5 separate regions of the Homo sapiens genome follow, and all the other regions are linked to region 3. Evidence: promoter capture Hi-C in human tissues and cell types (Jung and others, 2019). All regions are on one chromosome and are shown on one strand. Each heading gives the region's core, a stretch centred on a gene start or on the middle of the fragment in contact. The rest is flanking DNA. Distances are from core to core; before and after follow the strand shown. Region 1 overlaps CFAP70 (cilia and flagella associated protein 70). Region 2 overlaps CFAP70 (cilia and flagella associated protein 70). Region 3 holds the start of MSS51 (MSS51 mitochondrial translational activator). Region 4 has its middle 24 kb from the start of MYOZ1. Region 5 overlaps FAM149B1 (family with sequence similarity 149 member B1).

Region 1 (2,700 bases), core at 188-2,687, 160 kb after region 3:
ACACAGTACTATGTGGGGGAATAAAAATATTAGCTTATTTTTATTGGTAAAACTTGGCTGGACAACATAACTAGCCCCACATTTGACTTACCCATGCAGTCACAGGTAGAGCAGCTGAAGAATTGAAGCCTCCTCTCAGAGAAGAAGAGCATTCTAGGAAGTCTGCCTATTACATGGGAAGAAAGAAGCATATTCATGAGCAAGCAGTAGGAGAGATCAAGACTCAGGAGCCAGGAGTGTTTGGTTTTGATCCTGCCAAGTGCATGCCCTACTCAAGGGCAGGCAAGCTCAAGAAAGGGCAAGAATTATTAACTGGGTGGGATTGAGCCACATTAAGCAGGAGGCTTTAACACATTAACCCTCCGCAAAATAGAAACAGACTCTCTTCTTCCACAGCTAAATAAGTCATTAGCTCCCCCAGGTCAGAGACCCAGAAGGCAGGTGGAAAAAATAGCTGCAGCTGTTCCCTCTAGTATTCTCCTAAAAAGGTGTAAGTATAATGTAGAATTTTCTACATTATAGGCTGAGATGGGAACAGTGGGAGATGAAAAGAAGGATTTACCCTCGACTTAAGAAGTATATCTAACTTTGTTAATTTTGTAGGTCTTATAAAGTGTAAAAAGCAAAGATTTGGCCAGGCATGGGGCTCACCCCTATAATTCCAGCACTTTTGGGAAGCCAAGGCAGGAGGATTGCTTGAGGCCAGAAGGCTGCAGTAAGCAGCCCTGGGTGACAGAGTAAGACCCTGTCTCTAAAAAAAGAAAAAAAAAAAAACAAAATACAAAAATTGACCCAAACTACAAAACTGGTAAACATAACCAATGTTTGGAGGTGGATCCAAAACAGACATTTATGTTTCTAAGATTTCAAGTCTAGATTGTTAGAAAGGCAGTTTTACCTCACTTAAGTTTCCTTACAATGTCAGCTGCCTGAAAATGTTACCTCCTTTGTAAATGGGGTGGTTGATGATGTGCCTTTGTCTGCTGCATAATACATGCAGTCTAACACTCACCTAGTATGATGACCAGCAAGACCAGAATTGTACAATATTGCAAGTTATTCACTTGGTAATGTCTTCATTTGGTGACTAGGTGAATAGCTGGTAATGGAACTATGAAGTGCAGAATGTTTGTAATTCACCCTTTACCTTTTGAAGTTGAGGATAATTATTTCATTCTGTAATACATTTCGTATTATTTATTATCAGAGACAGAATCCTTCAACCGAAAAAGACGCAATGCAGCCATTTATATGTTGCTTATAATCTGATTATCCTTGCAGTATGTGCACAGAGTGCTTGCACATGAGCTGTTATGCCCTCAAGGAGGCCCCAGCTGTGAATATTACTTGGTGCTGGCCCAAACACACATTCTTAAGAAGAACTTTGCCAAGGCAGAGGAATACCTTCAACAAGCAGCCCAGATGGACTACCTGGTAATGACTTTTGCTAAAGCCTCTTGAGTCTGGAGAAGGGGCTTTATTTAAAGGTGGTGATGCCATATCACACGTAGATTTCTGGTGAACAGAAGGGTGGTCATCAGCTGTCAGTAAACTCATCTCTCTATACCCTTCCATTTGCTTTTCTTAAGTAATCATGAGTTGGCTGGGCGCGGTGGCTCACAACTGTAATCGCAGCACTTTGGGAGGCCGAGGCAGGCAGATCACGAGGTCAGGAGTTCAAGACCAGCCTGGCCAACATAGTGAAACCCCATCTCTACTAAAAATACAAAAAATTAGATGGGCGTGGTGGCAGGTGCCTGTAATCCCAGCTACTCAGGAGGGTGAGGCAGGAGACTCGCCTGAACCTGGGAGGCGGAGGTTGCAGTGAGCGGAGATTGAGCCATTGCACTCTCCAGCCTGGGCGACAGTGCAAGACTCCATCTCAAAAAATAATAATAATAAAGTAATCATGAGTTTTGCAAAGAGCAGAGAAAAGGATATCTTTAGCTGATAGTGTTTATTTCAATTTTTCTAGATTTCTTATATTTTCTCATGTGAACAGTATTGGGGTTATGCTTGAATGTTTTTCTTAATATTTACTCCACACCCAAAATGGCTTTGAAGAATGCAAGAAAGAAATCTGAGGGCAGAGCTAGAAAAATGTCTCCTTGTACAATTAAATGGTTATGTTTCTGAGTGCTCTTAGAAAAAGAAAACGGTTGATCTGAAAAAGAAAAGAGAAAGGAAATGGACAATCTATCTAAATTTAAATGTTAAACAAAGATCATCAAGGTACTTTTAAATACTACCTTATCCCATATACTACTTGCTTTTCACTTTCCCAGAACCCCAATGTCTGGGGCCTGAAGGGCCATCTCTATTTTCTGAGTGGAAATCATTCTGAGGCCAAGGCATGCTATGAACGAACCATTAGCTTTGTAGTGGATGCTTCTGAGATGCACTTCATCTTCCTGAGACTGGGGCTCATCTATCTGGAAGAGAAAGAGGTGAGGGGTAGAGAATGGGGAATAACCCCGTGGTCTGGGAACTAATTGTAATTCAAGCATTAACATCTATCTGTGTGGACTAAAACTAGTAATATAATAATGACACTTTTACATCCAAAGGTAAAGTGACTTGCCCAACATCAGACAACCAGTAATTAGTGGAAGCAGCATTCAAACTCAGGCAGGCTGAAACGAGAGTCTGTGATTTTAACCATTATGCTACTAAACAGTTCTTAAGAACTCAGTAAATGTT
Region 2 (2,700 bases), core at 140-2,639, 180 kb after region 3:
TATAAGAGAGAGACACTCCCAGAGCGGCCATTTTAGAGACCTACCCCTGGGAATGCATTCTCTTTCTCAGGGCTGTTCCTTGCTGAGAAAAAGAATTCAGCGATATTTCTCCTATTCGCTTTTGTAAGAAGAGAAATGTGACTCTGTTCTGTCCGGCCCTGCAGGCAGTCAGGCCCAATAGTTATTTCCCTTGTTCCCTGAAAATCACAGCCATCCTGTTCCTTTTGGATGCCCAGATTTCATATTGTTCAAACACACGTGCTCTACAAACAATTTGTGCAGATAACGTAATCATCACAGGATCCTGAGGCAACATACATCCTCAGTTTACAAAGATGATGGGATTAAGAGATTAAAGTAAAGACAGGCATAGGAAATTATAAGAGTATTGATTGGGGAAGTGATAAATGTCCATGAAATCTTCACAATTTATGTTCAGAGATTGCAGTAAAGACAGGCATAAGAAATTATAAAAGTATTAATTTGGGGAACTAATAAATGTCCAAGAAATCTTCACAATTTATGTTCTTCTGCCATGGCTTCAGCCGGTCCCTCCGTTCAGTGTCCCTGACTTCCCACAACAAGCACTGATGAAGACTCTCATAATTGTAATTGGATGTAAATTGGCATAACCACTTTTAAGTACAATGTGGCATTATTTAGTTACATTCATATCTACAATTTGGCAATGTCATATCTAGATATAATCCTAAGAAAAATACAAGAAGACACATACAACATCTGTAATCCTAGCTACTCAGGAGGCTGAGGCAGGAGAATCGCTTGAACCCAGGGGGTGGAGGTTGCAGTGCTGAGACTGTGAGAGTGCTGAGATCGTGCCATTGCACTCCAGCCTGGGTGACAGAGCAAGACTCCGTCTCAAAAAAAAAAAAAAAAAAAGAAGGAAAAGGAGAAGAAGAAGAAATGTACAAGGATGTTTACTGCAGCAATGTTCATGATAGCAGAAAAATTATTTTTCAAAATTGTTTTGGCTATTCTGGATCCTGACATCATTTGGGCCTCTGCCTCCCTGTGGCAGGAGGGAAACAAAGTAATAGTGGTAGGAAAGGCAGGTGTGCTGGAAAATGCTGCTGGCAATTCAGTGAACTTCAGTTGGGAACATTTCAAAGTGTAGATTTGGAGGAAGTAAGGGTTTAGGGTGTGAAAGTTTTGTGAACCAGTAAAACTTTCATATGGACTAGCATTAATCAGAAAATTGGACTAGATATTCCCCAGGTCCCCTTCAGACACGAATATTCTGTGGTTCTTACATATTTAAGCTTTACCAAGTGACTTTGCATACTCTAAGTAACTATGTAGCAAACTCAAGAAGTAGAATAGTGGATTCATATTATCTCATTTAACTTCTGGAGGAGTGCTTCATGCAAAGAATAATATAAACTGGTGGGGAGTAGTTAATGTTCTTATCTCATATCCAGATCTTCATAGAAGTAATTCTGATACCTACTTTTTCTAATTCCTAGAGACAGAGTAATGTAGTAGTTAAAAACTTGGACTCTGGAGTCAAACTGCATTGTTTTAAACCTGGCTCCTCTACTTACTAGCTTCATAACCCTGGCAAGTTACTTATCCTCTCTGTAAATTGGGAATAATAAATAACAGTAGTTATCTCCTAGGTCTTGAGGATTAAGAATGAACTTAAATAAAGCACTAAAAACAACATCAATAATGAAAACAATGTAAATCACATAGTACGGAGTGGTAAGTGTTAATTATTATTAACAGAATGGCTTCAGTCCTAAGAGGAACAAATGACTCATGGTGCTTTCAAAAAGGTGAGAGGCCAAGTTATCTTTAAGCTTTTCAAAAGGAAGGAGGAATTTTTTTTCCTTTTTTTTTTTTTTTTTTTTTTTGAGATGGAGTCTCACTCTGTTGCCCAGGATGGAGTGCAGTGGCATGATGTCGGCTCACTGCAACCTCTGCCTCCTGGGTTCAAGCGATTCTCCTGCCTCAGCTCCCCTAGTAGCTGGGACTACAGGCGCATGCCACCACACCCGGCTAATTTTGTGTATTTTTATTAGAGACGGGGTTTCACCGTGTTAGCCAGGATGATCTCGATCTCCTGACCTTGTGATCCACCCACCTCGGTCTCCCAAAGTGCTGGGATTATGGGCATGAGCCACCACGCCTGGCCAGGAGGAATTTTTTAAAAAAAAAACCTTTTTCTCCCTACCACCTTTCATTTGCTAGTTTTTCCTCTCAATTCAGAAGTTCTTAACTGGAAGGTGTAGAAGCCTCTGCCTTAGGTGTAGGTGCCTCTGCCTTAGCTGAGGCAATGTATTTTCCTTACCATAATGTTTATGACCTGTCATCATCACCAACTGCTGCACTTTTTTCAGGTTGGACGGCAATTAGAAGCTGAGCAGGCCTACAAGTACATGATCAAGGTATGACACAGATGCCTCTGTCATTTGCCTGCCCCATGTTAAGGGTGGGAAATTAGGAGGGAGGTACTGGCTTAATTCAGGACTTTCATAATGTGAATATTTTTCTAGAGGCTTTTCTTACCATCTTTGCCATTATCGTGGGGCTGCTGGGTTTGTAATAACAACCTACATATTACCATAGGTGATCTTTCTTCCAGCTCTTTAGAGAGAATATATAATAGTTAATAGAAAGATAGCCTGGGAGTCAGTCAACCTGAATTATGATTCTGGTTTTGCCATTAACTTACTGTGT
Region 3 (2,700 bases), core at 107-2,606:
CATTATTAACAGAACTCAAAACATTTGAGGTTCTCAGATAAATTTTGAAGCCTGTTAAATTTGAAGTTGGCCTGAAACTTTTGCACAAAGTGAATTACCCCTATTTTATTTAGGGTTTTTGCCTATTGCAACTGATTTTCCTTTATCCACAGCTATTCTACATAATGTTATGCAGTGTTTGGTTGAATCCTTAACACTTTTCTTCCACCTTCCCTGCATGTAGTTTGTACTTTTTACAGTTTGGGGTTCCTGTGTGGATTTGATTTGCCACATTCCGGGACCTCATTGCGAGTGATTCTGTTCCCCAGTTTGATGATGTTCAAAGAAGCAGGTAAGTGAGAGCTGGGGTCAGATATAAGCAGAAAGTCAGAACTTTTTTATTTAAAAATTTTAAAAAAATTTTTTGAGGGTAAGAAAGATCTTGCAGTCTTTTAGGACCACTGCCCTAACAACTTCAGATAGGCTAGCTGTAAGTAGAAAGAAGCTAGGACTGTGGAATTGAATTTCCTGGATCAGCTGCAATTACAAGGAGGATAAGAGAATGGTTGAGCTGATTCTTTTCTATTTTCTTTTCCTAGAAATAGTATGTATTTTTAGTCATTAACTAGTATTTTGGTTTTGTTTAATATCCCAGAAGCATTTATTCCTCTCTTAATACAGGTAAAGTGCTCCTGATGACTCTCTCACTCAGAGAGTTATCTTACCCTTCTTTCAGGGAAAGTGAATTTTACAAGTTAATTCTGCATGTTTCCCCTACAACTGATTTCATTCTGTACCATTAAATGGCCATTTATTTTCTCCCTTCTACTTAATCCAAGATTGGACATTGTTGAGTTTTGTTTGAACAATGTTTGTTATGCTGAAAAAGGACACCAGGCCTGGGGGAACTCATCCTGTGTCTAGATCAACAAACAGAACTCCAGAGGGTCCTCTGGTTCCTCCCACTTGGTTGGAAAGGTGCTTACCCTTTCCAATCAAATATTGACTTCTGCACTAATCCAAAGGGTTTTCTTCTGAAGCTGTAAACTGAGAACAGAAATATTGCCTTGAGTGAGAGAAGTCTAGGAAGCAGCAGGTTTCATTTTTTGTCAGCCTGCCTGGCCTTTACTTGGCTAACACTTGGGAGTGTTGACAGTCCTGAGCCCCCTTGGCAGAGAACAAAGGTTAGAGAGAAGCCCTCAGGCAGGGGGACAGATCCCTCTTTGCCTCATTAGGGAGAATTCAGCCTTGTCTGTCTGGTTGGCAGGGCACACTTAATCACTGAGACTCAGCATTTCAGCAGTTTGCAAAGGAAAGTGATATGAAGGGACAGCTGCAAGTAAGCCACAACCTAGATCTGAAGAGATCAAGCACTCATTTCACTTGGAGGAAAGAGAGAAGGAAGGAAGCTGAGGACTTAGCAGGGTAAGTTTTTTTTTCCGTCAACCTGTCTGCTTGCTTAGTTTATAATTGAGTAAAGTATTTATCACCCCAGGCAGTGTTAATCACTGATTAAACAGCTGAATGTGGCCATAATTACAGTGTCCTTAATGTATTTCTCCTTCTCTTTTCCTACCCCCTTATAAGGATCTCCAATGACCAGTTTCAGTCTTCCTTCTCCCTACCTCTCCAAAGACGTTTTGCATTTTTTGGTGACTTACAGAAAATTAGATGAGCACTCCTTATCTGGAGATAGTGAAAATATGACTGTAGTTTAGGTGAAACTTGGGACTCTTGGTGGTAAAGAAGAAGATGGGAAACCTAGGTCTAGGAATAGATTAATATTTTGTCTTGAATTTGGACATGAAGGATAAAAGTTTTTCTAGGCAATCAAGATCATGTCTCCTCTCCAGTTCTTGGTGTTGGTGTTCTCTCTCTTATACTGGGACTAAATTAGAGCCTAAGTCACTGGGGATGGCTAGAAAAAAATGAAAGGGATTCCCTTTCTAAGTGGAGAGCATTCTAGACTCTGGAAAGTTCAAAGAGCTTACTGCAATTCTTTCCAGCTTCTCCTGTGAGTCCCCTGTTTTTTCCTTTGTTTCTCTCAGTTTATAACCTGTGAACAGGGAGTAGCCTGGGGCTCTTTACAGGAGATTTAGAACCAGGGAAGCTGTGTCTGGGCCTGGGGTATATAAACTCAAACATGAACCTGATGATGTATATAGATGCAGATCAAAGACCTGGCTTCTCACCCACCTTCTTTCTTTTCTGCCAGAAAGCTAACTCATTTGTATCATGAACATTGTGCTCTAGACACAGAGGAGACTGTGACATTAGGGATTTTTACCACCACTCCTCTTCCTCAAACTGTGTGATCCTTTTGCTTTCTGACCAGTTCAGCCAACTCCCAGATTGCCAAGAGCTAATCTTCCTTTAGAGGAAGACCTCACCTTGGAAATGCGGAAAAGTAAAGCAGTACCTTTCTGACCTTAAGTGGCTTGCTTCCATTGCAGCAAAAAGGCTTATGTTTTAACTTCAGGGAGATATCTATTATAAATTCTGGGATTTAAGACCCTAGAGTTGTCTCAAATCACACTTTCCTTCCATACCTATTTAAAAAAAAAAAAGTCATTCTTTCAAGGTTTAAGAAAGTGGTGTCTTGGCCGGGCGCCGTGGCTCATGCCTGTAATCCCAGCACTTTGGGAGGTCGAGGTGGGTGGATCACGAGGTCAGGAGTTCGAGACCAGCCTGACCAACATGGTGAAACCCCATCTCTACTAA
Region 4 (2,700 bases), core at 58-2,557, 180 kb before region 3:
CCTATAGTCCTGGCTACTTGGGAGGCTGAGGCAGGAAGATCCCTTGAGCCCAGGTGTTTGAGGTTGCAGTCAGCTAAATCATGCCACTACACTCCAGCCTCAGTCTGACTACACGTCAGAGTGAGAGTGAGACCCTGCTGCTAAAAAGAGAAGACAAGTGATCTCATTTTATTTATTTTTATTTATTAATGTTTTGAGATGGAGTCTTGCTGTGTCACCCAGGCTGGAGTGCAGTGGCGCAATCTCGGTTCACTGCAACCTCCGCCTCCCGGGTTCAAGCAATTTTCCTGCCTCAGCCTCTCGAGTAGCTGGGATTACAGGCACCTGCCACCAAGCTCGGCTAATTTTTGTATTTTTAGTAGAGATGGGGTTTCACCATGTCGGCCAGGCTGGTCTCGAACTCCTGACCTCAGATGATCCGTCAACCTTGCACTCCCAGAATGCTGAGATTACAGGTGTGAACCACTGCCTTATTTTTATTTTTATTTTTATTTTTATTTCTTAAGACAGGGTCTTTGTTGCCTAGGCTGGAGTGCAGTGCAATCACGGCTTACTGCAGCTTTTGCCTCCTGGACTCAAACAATCCTCTCACCTCAGCCTCCCAAGTAGCTGGAACTACAGATGTGCACCACCATGCCCAGCTAATTTTAAAAAAGTTTTTTTCACCCCGCCCTCTCAACAAAGCTTTTCCTGACTCTGCTAGGAACCAGGAAGAGAAAGTCTAATTTTTAATTTTTTTGAAGAGATGAGGTCTCACTATATTGCCCAGGCTGATCTTGAACTCCTGAACTCAAGGAATTTTTCCACCTCAGCCCTCCAAAGTGCTGGGATTACACGTATGAGCCACTGCACCTGGCCAAGTGATCTCATTTTAAATTTCCATTTATTTGAGATGAAGTTGAATATTTTCCATATTTATTATTATTTTTTATTTTTATTATTATTATTTTTAGACAGAGTCTCTCTCTGTTGCCCAGGCTGGAGTGCAATGGCATGATCTCAGCCCACTGCAACCTCCGCCTCCTGGGTTCAAGTGATTCTCCCACCTCAGCCTCCCACGTAACTGGGATTACAGGCATGCGCCACCGCCTGGCTAATTTTTTTTTTTTGAGACAGGGTTTCGCTCTTGTTGCCCAGGCTGCAGTGCAATGGTGCGATCTCAGCTCACCGCAACCTCCACCTCCTGGTTTCAAGCGATTCTCCTGCCTCAGCCACCTGAGTAGCTGGGATTACAGGCATGTGCCACCATGCCCAGCTAATTTTGTATTTTTAGTAGAGACGGGTTTCTCCGTGTTGGTCAGGCTGGTCTCGAACTCCCGACCTTAGGTGATCTGCCCGCCTTGGCCTCCCAAAGTGCTGGGATTACAGGTGTGAGCCACTGTGCCCAGCCTAACATCTTTTTATTTCTTTATTGGCTGTATTTCTTTCAGTGGAATTGCTTATTCTTTGCTTATTTTGTAACTGGGCTTTTTTCTTCTCATTCTACCCCTCCCATCCCATTTTAGTTTTTCTTTTGTATCAAAGCTACATTTATTCTCTGAAAACATTTTTTTAAGTTTTGTTTTGTTTTGTTTTGTTTTTGAGACAGAGTCTCTCTCTGTTGTTAAGGTTGAAGTGCAGTGGTGTGAGCTCAGCTCACTGTAGTCTCCACCTCCCAGGTTTAAATGGTTCTTGTGCCTCAGCCTCCTGAGGAGGCAAGATTACAGGCACCTGCCACCACGCCCAGATAATTTTTGTATTTTTTTTAGAATTTAATTTAATTTTAAGTTCCTGGATACACATGCAGGATGTGCAGGCGTGTTACATAAATGTGTGCCATGGTGGTTTGCTGTACCTATTAACTCATCACCTAGGTATTAAGCCCTGCATACATTAGCTGTTTATCCTGATGCTCTTCCCACCCCCGCACAGGCCCTAGTGTGTGTTGTTCCCCTCCCTGTGTCCATGTGTTTTCATTGTTCAGCTGCCACTTATAAGTGAAAACGTGGCATTTGGTTTTCTGTTCCTGTGTTAGTTTGCTGAGGATACATGAATGGAACTTGATTTTTTTTTTTTTTTTTTTTTTTTTTTGAGATGGAGTCTTGCTGTCGCCTAGGCTGGAGTGCAGTGGCGCAATCTCGGCTCACTGCAGCCTCTGCCTCCTGGGCTCAAGCAGTTCTCCTGCCTCAGCCTCCCAAGTAGCTAGCATTACAGGCACTTGCCACCATCCCTGGCTAATTTTGTATTTTTAGAAGAGACAGGGTTTCACCATGTTCGCCAGGCTAGTCTTGAACTCCTGATCTCAAGTGATCTGCCCACCTCGGCCTCCCAAAGATTACAGGCGTGAGCCACCTTGCCTGGCTTAAGTAATTTCTGTATTTTTAGTAGAGACGAGTTTTGCCATGTTGGCCAGGCTGGTCTTGAACTCCTGGCCTCAAGTAATCCTCTCACCTTGGCCTCCCAAAGTGCTGGGATTACAGGTGTGAGCCACTGTGCTGGGCCTTTTTTTTTTTTTTTTTTTGAGACTGATCTCTTCGTTGCCCAGGCTGGAGTGATTTCGCTCACTACAGCCTCAATTTCCCAAGCTCAGGTGATCGTCCCACCTCAACCTCCCGAGTAGCTGGGACCACAGTGTGAGCCATCATGACCAGCTAATTTTTGTATTTTTTATAGAAAAAGGGTTTTGCTATGTTGCCCAGGCTATTCTAGAATTCCTGACCT
Region 5 (2,700 bases), core at 45-2,544, 230 kb after region 3:
ATCTGGAACTTTTAAAGGCTTAGAGGAATAGTTTAACAGGTTAATGTCACAGAAAGGTAGCAAGGAATAGTGAAGAGAAGACTGGATTGAGAATCAGATGAATAAGGTTTTGGTTTTAGCTTTACTTGAGACAAATCATTAACTACTCTGATTCTCACCTATCCAGTAAAGAAGATAAATCATATCTATGTGATAGGTCTACTGTTAGAATATAGTTAGAATAGATATAAATAGACATTATTAATTATAAAATCTGTGCCAACCATAAGGTTTTAAACAAACTGTTTATACCTTTTTCTTTTCTTTTTTGTTTTGTTTTGTTTTTGGAGATGGAGTCTTGCTCTGTTGCCCAGGCTGGTATGCAGTGGCGTGATCTCGGCTCACTGCAACCTCCGCCTCCCGGGTTCAAGCGATTCTCTGGCCTCAGCCTCCCAAGTAGCTGACATTAGAGGCACGCATCACCATGCCCAGCTAATTTTGTATTTTTAGTAGAGATGGGGTTTCACCATGTTGGCCAGGCTAGTCTCAAACTCCTGACCCAAAGTGATCTGCCTGCCTCGGCCTCCCAATGTGCTGGGATTACAAGTGTGAGCCACCGCGCCCAGCCTGTATATACATTTTTCAAACAGAATTTATGTAAACAAAGTCCATATCTCTTCAACTGCTCTTTTAAAAGGTTTCAAAGTTCCCACTGGTGGTAATTTGCAAAAGGGTAAAATCAAACTATGTGGGGAAAAAATAAACTTATTTTAAAATCTCTAATCTCAGGAACAGGCAAATGATGTGTGAAGTTATAAAATACACAAGGAAGTCTAGTACATGGAGGCAATAAGAACATAAATTCTGGATACCTGAGAAATAACATAAAATAAATAACAGAAACTGGCATATATTTAATAATATACATTGGTAGCATCATTTAGAAAAAATAGGTATTAATACACAAAATAAGAGGGGAGTAAAAAGCTTAAAAGGCATAATACTCACATATCTATGTGATCGAATGCTAGGTATTCCTCAATTATTCCTTCTGAGACGATTATAGAGTCTTCCTCATCTCTTTCCATAGAACAAAAGCTGGAGGATTTGGCAATGGAAGATGCTTTATGAGCATAAGAAGATGAAAAATGTAACTTCTTTCCCCTTATACCAAATCTTGGAGTGGAAAAAAGAAGTAAATATTAATTATGTAAACATAAACAGTTCTTATGGCAACACAGTTACATGAGTTTTGGCTCAAACTCCCCTTGCCCTGGCAATACCTTCGTGGACTATTCTAAGCCTCAATAACCTACCATTTCTCAGAACAGGAAGATTAAATTCTGGTCACAGAACTATTCTGCCTACATGTACTATGGACTATCTGGTACTGCTTGCTGTCTTTTCAGATGCAAACAGCTATAGCTATGTATTAGGTCATCCTTGCCTTGCTATAAAGAAATATCTGAGACCACGTAATTTATAAGAAAAGAGATTTAATAGGCTCACAGTTCTGGAGGCTGTAGAAGCATAGTGCTGGCATCTGCTTCTGCAGAGGACTTACAAAGCTTTTACTCATGGGGGAATGTTAAGTGGGAGCAGGAGCAAGAGAGGTGCCACACACTTTTAAATGACCAGATGTCATGGGAACTCACTATCGCAAAGACAGTACAAAGCCATAAGGGATCCTCCCCCATGACCCAAACACCTCCCACCAGGCCCCACCTCTAGCATTGGGGATTACAATTCAGCATGAGATTTGGGCATCCTGCCCTTGGCTCCTCCCAAATCTCATATCCTTCTCACATTGCAAAATACAATTATGGTTTCCAAAAAGTCTCAAAAGTCTTGACTCATTCCAGTGTTAATTCAAAAGTCCAAAGTCCCACGTCTCCTCTGAGACAAGGCACATCCCTTCCAGCTATGAGCCTGTAAATCAAAAACAAGTTATTTACTTCCAAGATACAATGGGAGTATAGGCGTTAGATAAACATTTCTGTTCCAAAAGAGAGGGGCTACAGATCCCATGCAAGTTCAAAACCCAGTAGGGGAGTCATTAACTCTTAGAACCCCTTGATGTCCCATGACAAGGTGCAAGCGGTAGGCTTCCAAGACCCTGGGCAGCTCTACCCCTGTGGCTTTGCAGGGTTCAGCTCCCAAGGTTGCTCTCATGGGTGGAGTTGAATGCCTGCAGCTTTCTTTTTTCTTTTTTTCTTTTTTTTCTTTTTTGAGAGACAGAGTCTCGTTCTGTCGCCCAGGCTGGAGTGTAGTGGTGGGGTCTCGGCCCACTGCAACCTCTGCCTCCCGGGTTCAAGCAGTTCTCCTGCCTCAGCCTCCTGAATAGCTGGGATTACAGGCGAGCACCACTACACTCAGCTAATTTTTGTATTTTTAGTAGAGATGGGGTTTCACCATGTTGGCCAGGCTGGTCTCGAACTCCTGGTCTCTAGTGATCTGCCCATCTTGGCCTCCCAAAGTGCTGGGATTACAGGCATGAGCCACTGCACCTGGCCTGAATGCCTGCAGCTTTCTAGGTACAGGGTGCAAGGTGAATCTATCATTCTGGGGTCTGGAAGATGGTGACCCCCTTCCCACAGCTCCACTAGGCAGTGCCCCAGTGGGAATTGTGTGTGGGGCCTCCAACCCCCTATTTCTTCTCTGCACTGCCCAATAGAGATTCTCTGTGAGGACTCCACCCCTGCATCAGGCTTCTGCCTGGGC

Evidence for each region. Contacts are between HindIII fragments. The study calls those that stand out against the background at their distance.
Region 1: a contact is called between a fragment that was not itself captured here and the fragment with the promoter of MSS51 in region 3, in 2 of the 25 tissues and cell types used here (bladder and mesenchymal stem cells).
Region 2: a contact is called between a fragment that was not itself captured here and the fragment with the promoter of MSS51 in region 3, in 3 of the 25 tissues and cell types used here (IMR-90 fibroblasts, bladder and neural progenitor cells).
Region 4: a fragment that was not itself captured here is called in contact with the fragment with the promoter of MSS51 in region 3 in 2 of the 25 tissues and cell types used here (bladder and hippocampus).
Region 5: a contact is called between a fragment that was not itself captured here and the fragment with the promoter of MSS51 in region 3, in 3 of the 25 tissues and cell types used here (liver, mesenchymal stem cells and spleen).

Annotation. Positions count from the first base shown.
Region 1 is chr10:73,274,180-73,276,879 of GRCh38, reverse strand. It overlaps CFAP70 (cilia and flagella associated protein 70), which reads left to right. Exons shown (of 28, transcript NM_001367801.1): 23 at 1,282-1,434; 24 at 2,286-2,447. DNAJC9-AS1 (DNAJC9 and MRPS16 antisense RNA 1) reads right to left here. Exons shown (of 4, transcript NR_038373.1): 4 at 1-2,432. Among named protein-coding and RNA genes, the nearest start is that of MRPS16, 23 kb to the right of the region's middle. The HindIII fragment of the contact is 5,311 bases long and covers 1-2,700 here.
Region 2 is chr10:73,256,077-73,258,776 of GRCh38, reverse strand. It overlaps CFAP70 (cilia and flagella associated protein 70), which reads left to right. Exons shown (of 28, transcript NM_001367801.1): 27 at 2,361-2,408. The region is part of intron 2 of DNAJC9-AS1 (DNAJC9 and MRPS16 antisense RNA 1); the gene reads right to left. Among named protein-coding and RNA genes, the nearest start is that of MRPS16, 4.8 kb to the right of the region's middle. The HindIII fragment of the contact is 4,219 bases long and covers 1-2,700 here.
Region 3 is chr10:73,432,217-73,434,916 of GRCh38, reverse strand. MSS51 (MSS51 mitochondrial translational activator) reads left to right here and starts at 1,356. Exons shown (of 7, transcript NM_001024593.2): 1 at 1,356-1,404. The HindIII fragment of the contact is 24,221 bases long and covers 1-2,700 here.
Region 4 is chr10:73,615,706-73,618,405 of GRCh38, reverse strand. It overlaps a transcript of USP54 not described here. Among named protein-coding and RNA genes, the nearest start is that of MYOZ1, 24 kb to the left of the region's middle. The HindIII fragment of the contact is 5,257 bases long and covers 1-2,700 here.
Region 5 is chr10:73,207,074-73,209,773 of GRCh38, reverse strand. FAM149B1 (family with sequence similarity 149 member B1) reads right to left here. Exons shown (of 14, transcript NM_173348.2): 6 at 988-1,155. Among named protein-coding and RNA genes, the nearest start is that of DNAJC9, 39 kb to the left of the region's middle. The HindIII fragment of the contact is 5,165 bases long and covers 1-2,700 here.